3 separate regions of the Homo sapiens genome follow, and all the other regions are linked to region 3. Evidence: promoter capture Hi-C in human tissues and cell types (Jung and others, 2019). All regions are on one chromosome and are shown on one strand. The core of a region is centred on a gene start or on the middle of the fragment in contact, and the rest is flanking DNA. Distances in the headings are between cores, read along the strand shown. Region 1 overlaps TMEM50B (transmembrane protein 50B). Region 2 overlaps IFNGR2 (interferon gamma receptor 2). Region 3 holds the start of IL10RB (interleukin 10 receptor subunit beta).

What was found. Contacts are between HindIII fragments. The study calls those that stand out against the background at their distance.
Region 1: a contact is called between a fragment that was not itself captured here and the fragment with the promoter of IL10RB in region 3, in 1 of the 25 tissues and cell types used here (dorsolateral prefrontal cortex).
Region 2: a fragment that was not itself captured here is called in contact with the fragment with the promoter of IL10RB in region 3 in 1 of the 25 tissues and cell types used here (spleen).

The regions. Positions count from the first base shown.
Region 1 is chr21:33,460,523-33,463,222 of GRCh38, reverse strand. The region is part of intron 4 of TMEM50B (transmembrane protein 50B); the gene reads left to right. Among named protein-coding and RNA genes, the nearest start is that of TMEM50B, 18 kb to the left of the region's middle. The HindIII fragment of the contact is 4,870 bases long and covers 1-2,700 here.
Region 2 is chr21:33,425,687-33,428,386 of GRCh38, reverse strand. It overlaps IFNGR2 (interferon gamma receptor 2), which reads right to left. Exons shown (of 7, transcript NM_005534.4): 4 at 1,355-1,503. Among named protein-coding and RNA genes, the nearest start is that of IFNGR2, 24 kb to the right of the region's middle. The HindIII fragment of the contact is 6,726 bases long and covers 1-2,700 here.
Region 3 is chr21:33,265,107-33,267,806 of GRCh38, reverse strand. IL10RB (interleukin 10 receptor subunit beta) reads right to left here and starts at 1,440. Exons shown (of 7, transcript NM_000628.5): 1 at 1,293-1,440. The coding sequence starts at 1,341. All of the region lies in intron 7 of IFNAR2-IL10RB (IFNAR2-IL10RB readthrough), which reads right to left. IFNAR2 (interferon alpha and beta receptor subunit 2) reads right to left here. Exons shown (of 9, transcript NM_001289125.3): 9 at 2,143-2,700. It overlaps IL10RB-DT (IL10RB divergent transcript), which reads left to right and starts at 1,547. Exons shown (of 2, transcript NR_038974.1): 1 at 1,547-1,744; 2 at 1,905-2,175. RefSeq lists a silencer at 1,185-1,594 and enhancers at 1,765-1,834, 1,865-1,924. The HindIII fragment of the contact is 10,877 bases long and covers 1-2,700 here.

The sequences.
Region 1 (2,700 bases), core at 112-2,611, 200 kb before region 3:
CCTCCCAGGCTCAAGCAATTCTTCTGCCTCAGCCTCCTGAGTAGCTGGGATTACAGGTGCCTGCCACCACGCCTGGCTAGTTTTTGTATTTTTGGTAGAAACTGGGTTTCACCATGTTGGCCAGGCTGTTCTCAAACTCCTGACCTCAGGTGATGCACCCGCCTTGGCCTCCCAAAGTGCTGGGATTACAGGCATGAACCACCATGCCCAGCCTTCTACCTGATGCTTTAAATGCTGATGTAGATTTTGTAACCTCACTTCTACTGGAATCCATGGAGAATTTGCGAGAGGGTATAATGACAAATGACAGATGAGCCTAAGTTTAAAGTGCACAATATGTGTGTGTATGCGCATGCGATCGCGCTTACTTTTCATCATATCCTGTATGTCAGCCTCAGCAGTAATGTCAGGAATGAGGGAAGGTAAAGAAAAAATATATATTAGCAAGTGAAGATGTTGTATGTAGAGCATACAATAATGTACTCCATCATTTTTCTTTCAAGAATATTCCACGGACATTGCTGTGAATTATGTTACTATTATCTTTTTTTGAGACGAGGTCTTGCTCTGTCTCCCAGGCTAGAGTGCAGTGGCATGATCATGACGCAGAAAAGCCTTGAACTCCTGGGCTCAAGCAATCCTCCCCTCTCAGCCTCCAGAGTAGCTGGGATTACCGGTGTAAGCCACTGTGCCTGGCCACTATTATCTGTTTTTTATAGGAAGTTTCACTGTAACTTATCCAAAGTTTTTTAGCTTAAAAGTGGAACCTGTATTTGTCTTTGGTCTGTCTGGTTCCCAAGCCCGTCGTTTTTACCCTAAGTGATTATTATATTTTATTCTATGATATTCCCTATTCTATTAAAATTAACAGTACAGTTTATATTTTTATATTGTGCATATAGTGCAATTTCTGTTTAGTGTTTCAAAAATTAAGGACAAACTGTCTTATAGTCATGCCCAGGTATTGCTACTCTTAAGCTTTTGTACTGCTTAAGTGGTTTATCTGTAAACTATCTCTATTTAGTTCCCGGAGGAATTAATAGGAAAGTATCAAAATAATAAATATACTATAAATGAAACAGCTAAATAATAAAACTATAAAAAAGAACAGGAACTAGGTAGAAAAATGATCATTGTACTTAGAACCTGGGACAAGATGGATGCTTTTAATTGTTCATTAACCTTAACTCAGAGCTTCCTTGTAGCCAAAGCAAACAAGAGAAAATGTTACAGTTTTATTTTTTTGCTAAACAAAAGCATACTTCTTTTTCTTTTTTTTCTCTTTTTGTTAATATGCCCTCAGACATACTTACTTTACAAGAGAAATTTTTTTCTTGTTTAATTCTATTAGAAAGTTTAATGTATATAGCCATAAATAAAGGACATGATGGAAAATAATTGTAAGGATTTTTTTTTTTTTGAAACAGTTTTGCTTTGTTGCGCAGGCTAGAGTGTAGTGGCATGATCTTGGCTCACTGCAACCTCTGCCTCTCAGGTTCAAGCAATTCTCTTGCCTCAGCCTCTTGAATAGCTGGGACTACAGGCACCCGCCACCAAGCCCGACTGATTTTTTTTTCTTTTAGTAGAGATAGGGTTTTACCATGTTGCCCAGGCTGGTCTCGAACTCCTGAGCTCAGGCAATTAGCCCACCTTGGCCTCCCAAATTTCTAGGATTACAGGTGTGAGCTACCATGCCCCGCCTTTAAGGATTTTTAATAGTTCCTTTTATTCACGTTAGATAAAAGCTATGATTGAATATAATTTAGAGATTGTATTTCTCCAAAGAACTAAACATTACTGTTTATTTCTGGAGATCTGCTTAGTATTGTAATAAAATTTAGATAATATAGAGACCTATTTCTCTCAGATATCAGCTGTTCTAACCATTATGAACTTTGATCAGTGCTTCTTCCTTATCTGGTGTCTAAAATGAATCTTTTCCCTGGTAACAAAATATTTGCAACTGAGGCAAATTTAGTTTTCTGTTATGGAAATTGGCTAGGATTTTATTTTTACTTCAGTGGAGCTTTCTTCCCCTTCCAGAGGTTGATGGGGCTGTCAGTATACCTGTGAACAGGATCTGGTGCAAGTATTAACCTGCTTTCCTAAAAATATGTTGAATCTACTCAAGTGTCCAGATGATTTACATTATCGAGATCTAGAATTTTGTTCAATACAGGGTTGAAGAGATACTTCTGATCTTGAAGTTTTCATGAATATGTGGTACAGATTGGCTGCCTCAGCAATAAAAAAGCCTGAATATACTCCTAAAGAATGGCCGTTATTTGTACCATATTGAATAATGGTGTGATTATAGAAGCTTACCATTGATTAAAAAGGGACATATTAGTCCTTCTTCATTTGAAGTCTCTCATTCCTATGTGGTGATGGCTATCCAGAATACATGTGCTACTTTTAATAGAGCAATTATTTTGGTAATATATACAACAGTGTAATTTTTTAATTAGGGCATTCGTTTCTCTAGTCAGTAAAAAGGTAACTTTCTTTTTTTCCTTTTCCATGTATGGTTTAACTTCTTTTAGTGTTTTTTTTTTAAATCATCATTCATTTAACTTACAGCAGATTTATATAAATATATGACTATCTTTGATATGCATAATATATACTAGGCTAACAGGGCTCCTAGTATTATGTATTCCTAAGACGTTACAGAGCTGCAAAAATGAACAAAATCATAAA
Region 2 (2,700 bases), core at 62-2,561, 160 kb before region 3:
GCCAGGTGTGGTTGGCACAGGCCTGTAGTTCCAGCTACTCGGGTGGCTGAAGTGGGTGGACTGCTTGAGCCGGGGAGGTAGAGGTTGCAGTGAGCCAAGATGGTACCACAGTACTCTAGCCTGGGCGACAGTGAGACTGTCTCAAAAAAAGAACAATAATTAAAAAAAAAAAAAAAATGAAGGAGAAGTGCAGATACAAAGCGTGTGGCAGAAAAAGATGGTGGTCAAGAGCAGGGCTCTGAAGCTAGGCATCTCTGCTCTGCTCTGCTCTGCCAGTGATTCGCTGCTGACCTGAGGCAAGCCACTTAACGACTTGGATTCTCTCTCTGCAAACGGATTAGTATAAAGATGAAATGGGCCGGGCACGGTGGCTCATGCCTGTAATCCCAGCACTTTGGGTGGCCAAGGTGGGCAGATCACCTGAGGTCAGGAGTCTGAGACCAGCCTGACCAACGTGGTAAAAACCCTGTCTCTACTAAAAATACAAAAACTAGCTGGGCATCAAGAGCGAAACTCCAGCTCAAAAAAAAAAAAAAAAAAAAGATGAAATGAGATGAAGTATCTAAAATTCTGGCCCAGAGCCAAACACAAAGGAAGCTCTCAATAAATGTAAGCTCTTATTATCAAAAACCATCATAATGTTGAATTTAGGAAATCATGAAGTTCCCATAGATAACAGAACCTCCTTAAATGCAGCTAGGATAATTTAGGCACTGGAGATGCTTCAAGACCATGATGCTTTTTCCTATACTCCCCGAGGCTGACCAGGCCGCTCTGATGTCATGCACCTCTGTCAACGTGAGCACCTGCCACAGCCCCTTGTGGATTGCATTTCTGACCAATCTAAGCACCTGCAGTTCTCCACGTATGCCACGCCTTCTCATACCTGCTGGTACTGCTCTCTGGAAAGCTCTTTCTCCCTCTGTTTCCCCCCGATTTCGCATGTGCCCTTTTCACAAACTGTTCAAACATTTATACAGTTAAGCCTTGCAGGCTGTAGTTGTGGATTCCTCATGGAGAACCAGGCCCACTAAAACCTCCTCCAAACTACAGAGCGTGGCAAAGGCATCGTAAGCAGGGCACCGGCAAAGTCTCAACCCCACACAAGGGACACAGAGTGACATCAAAGGATGGCTGGCCCTTCAGATCAGCCTGGCGGAGGGAGGTCTCAGCAAACCGAGTGGAAAAACAGGTCTTGAAGAGGACAATGAAAACAGGCTCAGGGCTCAGCCTCTATGGGGACACGGGGACATGGAGACACCCTGTTCTTGCCCATGTTAAAGGTTTCTTTCTTTTGCTAAGCCAGAAACTGCAAAGAAAAGAAAATCCAAACAAAAAAGAAAGATGCTCTTGCCTGTTGGATTCCTCCTTTTTCCCAGTAATGGACATAATAACAAAAAAAGGCCGTGGAGGTATCAGCGATGTCAAAGGGAGAGGAGAACCTGATGATGAGGGAGCCTTCTCCTGGGGTCACCTCAATGTTTTCTGGAGGCCCGACAGTCACTGAAAAAGAATTACAAAGAGAAAACCACACACATACACATATGTATTATAGATATAATACAATGTATTATATAATGCTATATATATATGTATATATATATATATAGTGGGTGTAGATATATACACACACGTTTTTATCTATCTCTTTATTTATTATTATTTTTTCGAGACAGTTTTGCTCTGTCGCCCAGGCTAGAGTGCAGTTGTGCGATCTCGGCTCACTGCAACCTCCACCTCCCGGGCTCAAGCAATTCTCTTGCATCAGCCTCTCAAGTAGCTGGGATTACAACAGGCGTGTGCCACCATGCCTGGCTAATTTTTATATTTTTAGAAGAAACAGGGTATCATCATGTTGGCCAGGCTGTTCTCGAACTCCTGACCTCGTGATCCGCCCACCTCAGCCTCCCAAAGTGCTGAGATTACAGGTGTGAGCCACCGCGCCTGGCCTATTTATTTATTTATTCATTTTTGAGATGGAATCTCGCACATATCACCCAGGCTGGAGTGCAGTGGTGCAATCTCAACTCACTGCAACCTCCGCCTTCCAGGTTCAAGCGATTCTCCTGCCTCAGCCTCTCATGTAGCTGGGATTACAGGCACACGCCACCATACCCGGCTAATTTTTGTATTTTTAGTAGAGACAGGGTTTCACTATGTTGGCCAGGCTGGTTTCAAACTCCTGACCTCAGGTGATCCGCCTGCCTTGGCCTCCCAAAGTGCTGGGATTACAGGCGTGAGCACCATGCCCATACTATATTTAAACACAATAACTGAGAAGTGTTGCCATGTAAGTCTATTTGTTCAGGCTTTTCATATAATTCACAGGTCAGGCTAGGACTGTGACTCATGATGTGCTATCAATGAGGGGTTATCAAGCATTTATTAAGTAAGCATGCACATTGTATAATTCACCAGAGAAACTCAGATCAAAGTACAGTTTGGGTCCTCGAAGTTCTAAGAGACCAATGTCTGCACATTTTACACAAGGAGACAATCCTGTCACTGTGTGTTCACAACAGCAGGGCTGGATTCTCTCCCCTGGGCACTCCAGGTTGGTGAGGGTTAGGTGTATGATCTGGCCAAGCTTCTCTCTGTGCAAAAGAACTGCTGAGTTTGTAGTTGTGCCCCCTCATTTGTTCTGGTGGAGGTGCTAAGTCCAGACAACTCCCAGTGGCAGAAGTGAGGTCAGGCCTGGCC
Region 3 (2,700 bases), core at 191-2,690:
TGGTGGCTCGCGCCTGTAATCCCAGCTCTTTGGGAGGCTGAGGAAGGTGAATCACCTGAGGTCAGGAGTTCGAGACCAGCCTGGCCAACATGGCGAAACCCCATCTCCAATAAAAATACAAAAATTAGCCAGGCGTAGTGGCACACACCTGTAATTCCAGCTACTCGGGAGGCTGAGGGAGGAAAATCGCTTGAACCCGGGAGGCGGAGGTGGCAGTGAGGCAAGATCAAGCCACTGCACTCCAGCCTGGGCCACAGCAACAGAGCAAAACCCTGTCTCAAAAAAAAACAAAAAAACAAAAAAACAAACAAACAAAAAAAAAAACGGAAGAAGAAAGAAAGAAAAGAAAATTTGAAACCTACATGCAAGTAGAAAAGTAGAAGACTATAATAAACCACCACCCATCACCCAACTGGTACCAAGAGAGATATAAATGTGCGAGTCATGGGCCTATAGCCCGTGTTTAATGCCAGGGTTTGGCTGAAATCCCCCAAAGGAACAGTGCCAGGGAAGGAGAGAAAAGGCCTTGGGCATCACAATTAGCTACATAGAAACCTGACAGAGCAGGAGGGTCCCAAGCAGAGACAGCCTGACAGGGCGGGAAACCGGAGGGGTATCCCGGAAGGCCAGGGAAGAGTTCATGAGAAAGGAAGGAGGTGACCATGGTGTTATTGGAACCTAGGCAGTCAATTTAGAGGACAGAAAAGGTTTCAATGGATTTAGGTTTAGAAGCCATGGAGCTGGGGCGCTGGGGGACAGAATCCAGATTTCAGGGTGCTCGGGCCTGAACCGGAAGGAGGGGAGGTGCAGCGGGTGATGGGAGGCACATCTGTAGGGAGGGCTGGCACTGAGGGGGCAGACTTGGGGTCAGGGAGGGCTGTCAGGGCACTCGGGGACTGGTGGGGGCCTCCACTTGAACTGATAGTCTCCAGAAGGGTCAGATGACAGCCACGGTGGGATCTTGGGTCTTTTGGGGAAGCTACTTTATTTAGACGCCCGCCAGCAGAGAGCTGCAGGAGGACAGGGAATCAAAAGACGCCGGGAGTCTCCCCCTGAGTTTAGGGCCCAGACGGTCTGTAATCCGGGCGCGGATGGGGCTTTCTCCTGTTACAGAATCGACGGCAGCAGCAGCCTAGTTGCGTCTCAGCAGCCGGCCGTGGCGTTTGCATCTTCTCTCCCGAGGCCCCGAAGGCTCTTAAGTCACTTGCAGGGCGCCCAGGGATGGGATCAGGGGCGGCATCTCGCGGGGCCTCCCGGTTCCCAAGCGCGCCCCCTCCCCGCGGACCCCTCACCTGACACCAGCAGGCAGCCACCCAGCCAGCTCCCAAGGCTCCACGCCATGGACGGACGCTGGGGGTTCCGCGGCTTCCTCCAAGCACACGACCCCCGCCCGCGCCCGGGAGAGCTTGTCCGCGGCGGCTTCCGGGAACCAGCGGAGATGGGCGGGGCGGGGTGGGGAGGGGCCGGGCGACCGGGCTCCCACCCCGCTGCAGGCCCCGCCCACCAGCCCGGGTCCACCCGCGAGGCGCGGGGCACAGGCTTGGCAGATGCACACGAGGAAGAGGAAGGGATCCTCGCAAGCTTTGAAAGGCGCCGTCAAGTCAAATAAATAAATGCCCTACAACACCAACCCAGGACTGAGATCTGCATGCTGGAATGACGGTGGTGGTGGTGGCTTTCAGTATTCCCCAGGTTTTGTCCGGAGCACCGGCACGCCCTCTCTTGAAGTCCGCTCTCCGCACAGGTGAGTTAAAAGCACTTCAGCAGCAAATCCAGTTTGAGGGTCTTCTTTACCCTTCTCCCCAGGGATAAACAACACAAAACCAAGTCATCTTTACGCAAATAACTAGTTTCTTTCAGAGACTACTAAGAAAGCGTTAATTTCCTCTTTTTAACTTGATTAGTGGTTAGACGGGAAGATCCGGAGCTGTCCAGTGTCTTGGGTAATGCACGGCATCGCCTGATGTCTGACGCTAGAACACCACGTAAAGTCAAGCAGAGGGAAGTGAATGCGCCCTAGGCCCCTGCAGGCCACCAAGAAGAGCTAGAGGGAGTTGGTGCAATCCTAGAGATGCCGGCAGGTGCACCAATCTGTGGCACACGTACGCTCTCCAATGGAAGACAACTCAAGACCACACCAAGTTTGTATTAAAAAAGTACTGTTGTGTTACTTTTTACCAACCTCCAATCATTATACAAAATGTTAAAAAATACACAAACACACACACACACTCACAGCCATAGAGGTTATCGCAAAAGATCAACCCAGAATCTTTCAGAATATGACAGATGCACTGAGAAGGCAGATAAATTGATTCAATATACAAAAGGCCTCTTTCCTATGGAATTTCATTAGATTAAATAAGGTGTTCCCTCCTCACAGCCTCATCCTTATGAGCAATCATATAAATAATCTATTTAAAGTCCTTGAACTATAACTTGTATAATTTTTAGTTTTCCCCCTTTGAAGGGGCCTAAGAGAAAGGTTTGAGAAACCAGCTCTTGAGGGGGGCAGGGGTGAGGGGTAAGAGGTCCTGTGCCTTTCATTCATCCTGGGAGCTTCTCAGGATTGCAGCATTTCCACCTGAGTGTTCATTCTTGTACATTTTCTCATCTTTCTCCTGGGTTCCTAGGATCTTGGAGATTACCTAGTCCAATCCTTTTACTTCAGAAACAAAAAACCTGAGGCTCAGAAAGGCT